Regions from separate parts of the Homo sapiens genome. Here region 2 is linked to region 1. Evidence: promoter capture Hi-C in human tissues and cell types (Jung and others, 2019). All regions are on one chromosome and are shown on one strand. Each heading gives the region's core, a stretch centred on a gene start or on the middle of the fragment in contact. The rest is flanking DNA. Distances are from core to core; before and after follow the strand shown. Region 1 holds the start of HSD17B4 (hydroxysteroid 17-beta dehydrogenase 4). Region 2 has its middle 71 kb from the start of PRR16.

Evidence for each region. Contacts are between HindIII fragments. The study calls those that stand out against the background at their distance.
Region 2: a fragment that was not itself captured here is called in contact with the fragment with the promoter of HSD17B4 in region 1 in 1 of the 25 tissues and cell types used here (dorsolateral prefrontal cortex).

What each region holds. Positions count from the first base shown.
Region 1 is chr5:119,450,206-119,455,019 of GRCh38, forward strand. HSD17B4 (hydroxysteroid 17-beta dehydrogenase 4) reads left to right here and starts at 2,292. Exons shown (of 24, transcript NM_000414.4): 1 at 2,292-2,428. The coding sequence starts at 2,371. RefSeq lists an enhancer at 2,393-2,442. The HindIII fragment of the contact is 10,263 bases long and covers 1-4,814 here.
Region 2 is chr5:120,391,359-120,396,172 of GRCh38, forward strand. No RefSeq gene overlaps it. Among named protein-coding and RNA genes, the nearest start is that of PRR16, 71 kb to the right of the region's middle. The HindIII fragment of the contact is 4,037 bases long and covers 274-4,310 here.

The DNA of each region.
Region 1 (4,814 bases), core at 1,042-3,541:
GGGGCAGGGGGACCATAGGTGGTTTTGGAAAAGGCAACATTCAAGAGGGAAAACAGGGATGCATGTTCTCACTTTGGGCTGTGTTTTCAGGCTTGAGGTTGGAGCCCTCACTGGGGACCTGCCCTCTTCTGCCCAGAATTTCCCTGCCTTCTATCCCTGTCAGTTCCATTTGCAAATACAGTTTATCTCAACATTTCTTCTTCAACATTTCCTCTGCCTTACTTCTGGTTTCCATAATTTCCCCCAAATCTTTTCTATGTTCTCCTTGCCCACCTCTAATTATTGGGGGAACCTGCCCCCAATATTTCAACATAGGTTCTTTCTATTTTCCATAAGTGTCAGTCAGCTGAGAAATAGAGAAAGAGTACAAAGGGAGGAATTTTACAGCTGGGCTGCCGGGGGTGACATCACATATCAGTAGGACCGTGATGCCCACCTGAGCCTCAAACCAGCAAGTTTTTTATTAAGGGTTGCAAAAGGGAAGGGGGTGTAAGAACAGAGAGTAGGTACAAACATCACATGCTTCAAAGGGCAAAAAGCAGAACAAAGATCATATGCTTCTGAGGGAACAGGACAAAGGGCAAAAGCAGAACTACTAATAAGGGTCCAACAAAGATCACAAGACAAAGGGCAAAAGCAGAGCTACTGATAAGGGTCTATGTTCAGCAGTGCATGTATTATCTTGATAAACATCTTAAACAACAGAAACAGGGTTCGAGAGCAGACAACTGGTCTGACCACAAATTTACCAGGGCCGGGTTTTTCCCCACCGTAGTAAGCCTGAGGGTACTGCAGGAGACCAGGGCATATCTCAGTCCTTATCTCAACCACATAAGACAGAGCAGCCGTTTATAGACCTCCCCCCAGGAATGCATTCCTTTACCAGGGTATTAATATTAATATTCCTTGCTAGGAAAAGAATTTAGTGATATCTTCCCTACTTGCACGTCCGTTTATAGGCTCTCTGCAAGAAGAAAAATATGGCTGTTTTTGCCCAACCCCGCAGGCAGTCAGCCCATATGGTTGACTTCCCTTGTTCCCTAAAAATTGCTGTTATTCTGTTCTTTTTCAAGGTGCACTGATTTCATATTGTTCAAACACACATGTTTTACAATCAATTTGTACAGTTAACACAATTATCACAGTGGTCCTGAGGTGACGTACACCTTCAGCTTACGAAGATAACAGGATTAAGAGATTAAAGTAAAGACAGGCATAAGAAATTATAAAAGTATTATTTGGGAACTGATAAATGTCCGTGAAATCTTCACAATTTATGTTCCTCTGCTGCGGCTCTAGCAGGTCCCTCTGTTTGGGGTCCATGACTTCCCGCAACATCCAATCAATCCTCCATAATGGGCAAAGTGATCTTTCCATAGTGTAAATGTGTTCCCACCACTCTCTGGAGTAATCCTACTTAAAACCGTTTTCAGCACAAAATTCAAACATCTAAACATGATCTTGCTGGCTTTGCTTTTGTGGCTTTACCCTCTTTCTCCCCAAACCTAGCTAGTGTTTGTGCTGCCTGTAATGCCCTTCTTTCTTTGCAGGGGTCGCCACTTTAGGTCCTGGTCCTCCTTCAGAAAGTTTTTCCTCTTTCTCCCCAGCGGGGATAGGGTCTGTTTATTTTGACACCATTAGCTCACTTACACACATTGGTCACAAGTCTAGGCTGCACCGTTATTGAAAGTTTACCATCTGACTCTGAGTAGCTTGAGGATCCTATCAAAACTCAGGAGATGCTCAGTAAATGTTGATTGAACTATGACTGTTCTCAACATACAAACGCAAGATCATTTAGGAACACTTGTCAAAATGTTTTTGCCCCTTGAGATTCTATTTTGGGAGGTAAGCAGTGGGGGTCCAGGACTCTGCATTTTGACAGTCCCCTGATGTTTGCATGTAGAAGTGCAGGGATTATTACACTGACAAATCTTTACCATCCCTAAGGGGGACTTTCCTTCCCAGGGGCTATCTCTGGAAGCCCCTCAAGGATAGGGGCCGCATGCTGTTTCTCTAGGTCAGCAACTAAACCCAGAAAACGTTTATTGAGTGAATGATGAAACGACAGGTGAATAGATGAACGCAAGGTGTCGAGTTAACTATTCTTCTACACAAGTCCTAGCAGCTCCCATTGCTTCCAGCCGCAGAAATGGCCCCTGGAAGGCAAGTCTTCCAGCGAGTGGAGTCACTCTTAACTACATTTCCCAGGATTCCAAGGGAGCCGCGCGCTCTGCGCTCATCTTCCTACCAGAAATCGGCAAGTCACTGACCCTCGTCCCGCCCCCGCCATTCCCCGCCTCCTCCTGTCCCGCAGTCGGCGTCCAGCGGCTCTGCTTGTTCGTGTGTGTGTCGTTGCAGGCCTTATTCATGGGCTCACCGCTGAGGTTCGACGGGCGGGTGGTACTGGTCACCGGCGCGGGGGCAGGTGAGCATGCGAAGGTTGGAGGCCGCGCCCCTTGCTGAGGCGCAGCTGGCTGCTCTTTTCGGGCCGGCATACGCGCGCAGCCGCAGCTGAGGTCACCCCGCTGAGGTGGTGGGGAGGGGAATGGTTATTCTTGAGGCACCGCATCTCTTGAGGAGGAAAGAGCCGGAAACACCTGGTCTCTCAAGCAGGTACAGCCCGCTTCTCCCCAGCACCCCGGTGTGGGCTTCCCAAGGTCCTGCCTGAGAGGAGAGGCCAGGCTGGGCTGCTGATTGCAAAACTGGGTGAAAGTTCTCCCTGACCCTTATCTGTGGGCATCGATTGTTACTCTTCCTGCAATTAACTCTCTTAGATCTTTGCCTAGTCTTTTAAAGGACTGAAAAGCCGCGAGGGGCGGGGGCTGGAATTCGCCCCCTGAAGCGCAGAGATGTCAGCTCCTGAAAAGTCATTCGGTCGTTCAGTGTTTGTTTCCCTCTGTCGTAAGATTTTAAGTTCGTGAGAGGACCTTCTTTAAAGAGGGCGTCTGATAAGAGCCCTTCCCCGTTGGAGTTTGTATGCTTAGCAAGTCACAATCTGTTCTCGAAATCCACTGGAGTCTTGGCAGAGGTTGTAAGCTCAAATGCGCACAGGGGTCAGGCGTATGATGGAGAAAGAAAATGGGAGTAGGATGGGCACATCTGAGGAACTGGAGAGCAGAGAATTCCGAAGTGGACCGGCCAGTGGGAAAGTTGCCTGTATTTCAGGAGCGGCAAAATGGAAAATTGTTATGTGAAATAGCCCCATTTTTTAAAGTACAAAAAATTAAAACAAACCATTCATACCAACATAGATGCTGTGCAGTGAGATTTTACATTAGTTTCTCACCAGTGGGTGACCTCTGTAACCTCCAAGTGCAGGGATCTTGACATTATGCACCTTTGATTCTCCACTGGTAGTACCTTATACCTGGAAAGGCCCTAATGCATGAATTATTTGAGTTATATATTAAACGTTACAAACTGGAATTCTGTCAATTAATTCCTATGTACTTTCATATCTGTATTGATAAAGTGGCTTCTTATGCTGCCTTTCAGAAAATGCTTTCAGTGTTGATGAATAGCCAAGTATTTTATACCCATAGCTGTCTGGTTATCTCTGCATGGGCATGTATTTGGGTGTAGTCATACCTTCTAAATGTTTTTAGGAAAACATTTTGTTTACACTTTGCTTTTATTGTAAATAATGTATTTTACAACGCTTGGTGTTTTAAATCTTTTTTGACAGCTCTTGGATAATTTTCATGCAGGAGGTCCAGGGATTACATTCTAAGACGTTTTTGCCATCGCTAAGGAGACTTTCCTTTTCAGGGGCTATATCTGAAAATCATTCAAGGATAGGGACTGCTTCTTTTGACACCATTAGCATACTTACACATGGTATGCAGTACATTTTACACCAGTACTCAGTACACTTACACAAGCACATACATCTGTATTTAAAACCAGTTCATGATATAGTGTGTAGTACAGGCAATGCATCCTGAAATTTATTTTCTATTCTGTTTTATTTATAAATTGTAATTGTAACCCACAAAATTGATTTTGTGAAACAATGAGTTGTGACTAGACAGTTATGAACTTAGCACCTGCTGTTCATAAACTGGTTAAATTCTCTCTTACCCATTCAGAGTTGATTAAATTTTTTTTTTTTTTCAGAGCTAAAGGTTTTACTCTGTACCCAGGCTGGAGTGCAGTGACCCGATCATGGCTCACTGTAACCTTGAACTCCTGGGCTCAAGTGATCCTTTTGCATCAGCTTCCAGACTAGCTAGGACTGTAGGCATGTGCCACCACGCCCAGCTAATTTTTAAATGTTTTCAAGAGATGGAGTCTCGCTTTGTTGCCCAGGCTGGTCTCAAACTCCTGGCCTCAAGTGATCCTTCTGCTTGGATTAAATTCTAAAATAAGTTATTTGGTGAAATTTCCTAGTTTTGGAAAACTGTATATTTTTGGTTCTTTTTGTTTTTGTTTGAGAGGGAGTTTTGCTCTGTTGCCGAGGCTGGAGTGCAGTGACATGATCTTGGCTGACTGCAACCTCTGCCTTCCGGGTTCAAACAATTCTCCTACCTCAGCCTCCCAAGTAGCTGGGGGTACAGGTGCACACCACCAAGCCCAGCTGATTTTTGTGGTTTGAATAGAGACGGGGTTTCACCCTGTTGGCCAGGCTGGTCTTGAACTCCAGACCTCAAATGATCCGCCCACCTCTGTCTCATAAAGTGTTGGGATTACAGATGTGTGTCACTACTCCTGGCCTTGGGTTGTTTTTGGAAGGGGCTAATAATTTATGTATCTCAGTTTGTTATTTGTATACTTATTGATTAATTTATACTAAATATAAATTGTTAATTAAA
Region 2 (4,814 bases), core at 1,042-3,541, 940 kb after region 1:
TAACTAAGCATAGGAAATCTAGCCACAGTCAAGTTATTCACTCCTCAGCATTAGAACACTTCTTTAGCCCGTTGGGCTGCTTTTCTTTTCCATATAGCTATTCTCCATCTCTTTTCTAAGCCTCTGCTAGTCAGTCTCCCCACCTAAGATGCTATTCTTTCTGTACTTATATTCAAATGATCCCCCTTCTTTTGGGCTTGACTCAGTCTTTACACACACAGTGTAGTCTTTCTTAATTATTCTAATGCCCATTTATCTTACCCGTCTAGAACTCAAATAGAATGTATTAGGCAAACAAATTCATTTAGACATTAAGTCAAATACAGTCTCAAACTTATATATAACAACTTCAAGCATATTTTTTTTGATTTTGCAACTACAATACAATTATAGGCTGAATGTTTGCGTCCCTTACATTTTATGTGCTGAAACCCTACTCTCAATGTGATGTATTAGAAGGTAGGGCCTTCAGAAGGTGATTTGGTCATGGGAGTAGAGCCCTCATGAATGGGATTAGTGCCCTTTTAAGCATCCCAAGAGAGCTTGCTTCACTTTGCTCTCTGTCATATAAGGATACAACAAGAAGTCGGTATTCTGTAACCTGAAAGAGGACCCTCACTGGAACCCAACCATGCTAGCACCCTGATCTCAGACCTCCAGTATACTGATTGTGAGAAATATATCTCAGTTGTTTATAAGCTGCCCAGTCTATAGTAATTTGGTGTAGCAGCCTGAACTAACAAGACAAATACCTAAGCTTTTATGGTATGGAATTCTTTATTGGCTAACTTTTAATGCCTAGAACAATGTTATGAACATAGTAATATTTAACAAGTATTTGTTAAATAAATAGTTTTAAAAAGGCACTCATTTTCAAAGTCAGGGTATATCAAATATTGTTGGAATGACAATTGATAATGGCTAAAATGCTGAGGAAATAGGAGATTTATTTTAACTTAAGAGTCTCAGAGCCACTGTTATACTTTTCAGGAACAAGCATTCACCTGTGAGGTAGAATTTGAAAAATATTTTCTTGTCCAAATATATATGCCTTAAAGCTTCTGTTTGTGTGCTTATAGTTATCATATTAGCTATTCCTTGGAGTTAACAAAGCCCAAATAAAAATTTGGAAGAACATTTTGGATTAAATTTCTTTATCAGGTTAGTCAGACTCAAGAGGATGTTGGAATGGACAGAGATGAGGAAAATAAGTCGAGGGAAAAGTTTAGAGCCTGAAGCTATGGGGAAGGCAATGTCAGGGGAAATATTTGGGGCATCAAGGATGTATGATAAAATTGCTGAATATTTGACCACAATCAAAGTGTGGGCTGCCAAAAGCAGTAGGTACAGAAAGCAGCTCATATCTCTACTAGAAGGATGAGCTTTGTGCAAGGTAACTTTTGTAGCTTAAATATTGAGTAGGGGCTTACACTTAGTAAAAATATCTTCAGTTGTAGAATAAAGTTGTCACCTTGAGTGAAATGTTCTATCAAGTATCTAAGTGCCTTGTGTAGTTAGTTACTTCACCAAAACTATATTTCTTTGGGTATTTTAACTTTTGTTTAATTATTGTTTATGTAAAAATGAAAGAAGTTCGATTAAGAAGAGGTCAAAAAATGTAACAAAGTAAAAGGAGAATAGGAATGTGTATATGGTGAGCATTTGTGTGACTGGTGCAACGTAGGTCTGGAAATGCTTATTTTATATATTTTCATAATAAGAGAGTTATAAGTACCCTCATTTCTCCAAAAAGAAACTGAAATTCAGCAAAATTATGTAAATAGTCCTGTGTCACTTGGTTATTAAGAGCAAAACCTGGTATTTGACCTGAGATGTCTATAACACCAATGCTCATGCTATTTTACGAAATTCTAAATGAGCAAAGAAAAAAATACCATGAGGGCTTAGATTATTTTTCATCATGTGAATAGACATTTTTACATGATGTGGGATTCTCGAATACAGCAGGATAGGTTTAGGAGCTGTAAGTAACAGAAATTAAGTTTAGATTTAGTATCTTAGTTTGGATCCCAGAATCACACTTTGAGGCAGGATTTATATGCAAATAATTCATCTGGGATGTGGTCCCATAAACATAAGTAGAGGAGTGGTGAAGCGATAAAGAAAAGGGAAGGAAGCCAATAAAAGTGCATCATCAAACAGATTACTATAGCGGGCAACTATAGCTTAGTCCCACAAGCGTATTACCCCTGAGGGGAGAGAATTGCATCGTATGAACCAAATCTTGGCAGCTAATGATTAAAAGCCACTCCTGTGGAACATTGATTCCCCAGCATTTCCAGCCTGCTTTATGCACAGGTGGAGTGGGCTCCTGCAGCCAGAGCAAGCCCTCAGGCAAAGAGAAGTTGATGATATTTGGAAGTCTGTTGGCAGGTATTAAAAGGCAAGGGGTATGTGGATAAAGAACTCACCTGCTACATTTAAAAAATAAGATGTTAAAACTATGTTAGGCACCTTTGACAAAATATATTCTCTAACAAATTGTGTTGGGATAACTGGATAGCCACATGTAATAAAATAAAATCTGACCCCTATTTATACACAAAAATAAATCCATCAAAATGGTTTAAAAATGTAAATGTAAGAATTGAAACCGTTAAACTCCTAGAAGAAAATGGGAGAAAAGCTTCATGACATTGGATTTGGCAACGATTTCTTGGATATGACACCAAAAGCATAAGAAACAGAAGCAAAAATAGACAAATGAGATGACATCAAATAATAAGCTTCTATATAGTACAGGATGCAATCAAGAGTGAAAAGATAACCTATGGAATGGGAGAAATATTTGCAAACCATATATCTAATAAGGGGTTTATATCAAAAGTGTATAAGGAACTCCTACAACTCAATAGCGAAGAAATGAATAACCTTATTTTAAAATGGGCAAAGGACTTGCATAGACATGTATCCTCCTGAGAAGACATATAAATAGCCTATAGGTATATGAAAAGATGCTCAACATCATTAATAATCAGAACAAAAGCAAATCAAAACAATGAGATATTACTTCATACCTATTAGAATGGCTGTTATTAAAAAGCAAGATAAGTATTGGCAAAAGTGTGAAGAAATTGGAACCTTGTACCCTACTGGTAGGAATGTTAAGTGGTGCAGCTGCTGTAAAAAGCAATAGGAGACATGGTGTTTCCTAACATATTAAAGAAGGAACTACCATATGATCCAGCAATCTCACTTCTGGGTATATATCACAAAGAATTGAAATCAGGATCTTAAAGATACATCTGTAATCCCATGTTCATTGTGGCATTACTCACAATAGCCAAGGTATTGAAATATTTATGTATGTTATCATCAATTTATATATAAATAGATAAGGAAAATGTGCCATATACACAGGACGGAATATTAGTCAGCCTTAAAAAATAAGGAAATCCTGCCATATGCTACAAGAAGGATAAATCTGGAGAACATTACACTAAGTGAAGAAAACTAGTCACAGAAATAAACTAGTCACAGAAATACTGCATAATTCCAACTATATGATGTACCTAAAATAATCTAACTTATAGAAACAAGAGAATAGAATGGTGGTTTCCAGGAACTGGAAGGAGGTAGAGGGTAGTTGCAGTTCAATGAGTATAAAGTATAGTTATGCAAGATGAGTAACTTTTAAAGATCTGCTGTATTCACTGTACCTATAGTTAACTATATATTGTACACTTAAAATTTTGTTAAGAGAGTATAACTCAGGTTAAGTGTTTTTACCACTACACACACAAACACACATACTGGGTTAGTCTGTTCTCATTGCTGTTACTAAAGACATACCAAAGACTGGGTAATTTATAAAGGAAAGATGTTTAATGGACTCAGTTCCTTGTGGCTGGGGAGGCCTCACAATAATGGTGGAAGGCAAAGGAGAAGAAAAGTCATGTCTTACAGGGTGGCAGGCAAGGTAGCTTGTGCAGGAGAACTCCCCTTTACAAAACCATCAGATATTATGAGACTTATTCACTACCACAAGAACAGCATGAGAAAGCCCTGCCTCCATGATTCAATTATCTTCCACTGGGTCCCTTCCATGACACATGGGAATTTGGGGAGCTACAATTCAATATGAGATTTGGGTGGGGACACAGCCAAACCATATCACACACATATTAGCTTGTGCGTGGAATCATCATAATGCCAGGAGAAACAGACTCCAAGTTATATAGCCTAGAAAATTTCTCCAAACTCCTTTATGAAGGCATTTTGTGATGCATAATGGCCAACTCCCACAAAGCAGTAAAAGCTCCAACTTGCACCTCAGCGCAGTTAACCCTGAGCATATGACATTCACATTAGCATTCCTGTTCTGTCTGCTCTTGGCATTTAATCTTGTTTTAATTTTCCCCTTTACCAGAGAGTTTCTTCAGTCCATCATGTTCAAAAATCCCTGTGTATTGGTTGGTTTCATCTGATTTGCAAAACCTAGTGGATTTGCCTGAATCCTAGCTGCAAGGGTGTATAAGTAACTTTAGCTTCTATGATGAAAAGCACACTCTTTCCAGTCAAACTCATCAAAACTCACAAGGTTGTGGGAGGTAGGTCTATAAGCATAGGAAGTTAAGATACTGATTCTCCATAAAGAAATAATAAATATCCATGATATATAGTTAATATATTTTAATCCACAATTTAATTTTTTGTTAAATAAGTTCCCAGAAATAAACTGGGCTCAAGGCTTTCAATCAGAAAGTATAAAAGCAGTGTTTGGTTGAAGGTTTCAGCTTTAGTTGAGGAAGTACAGTGATTCCTTCATTCTTGGTCTTATCTCCATTTTTCTT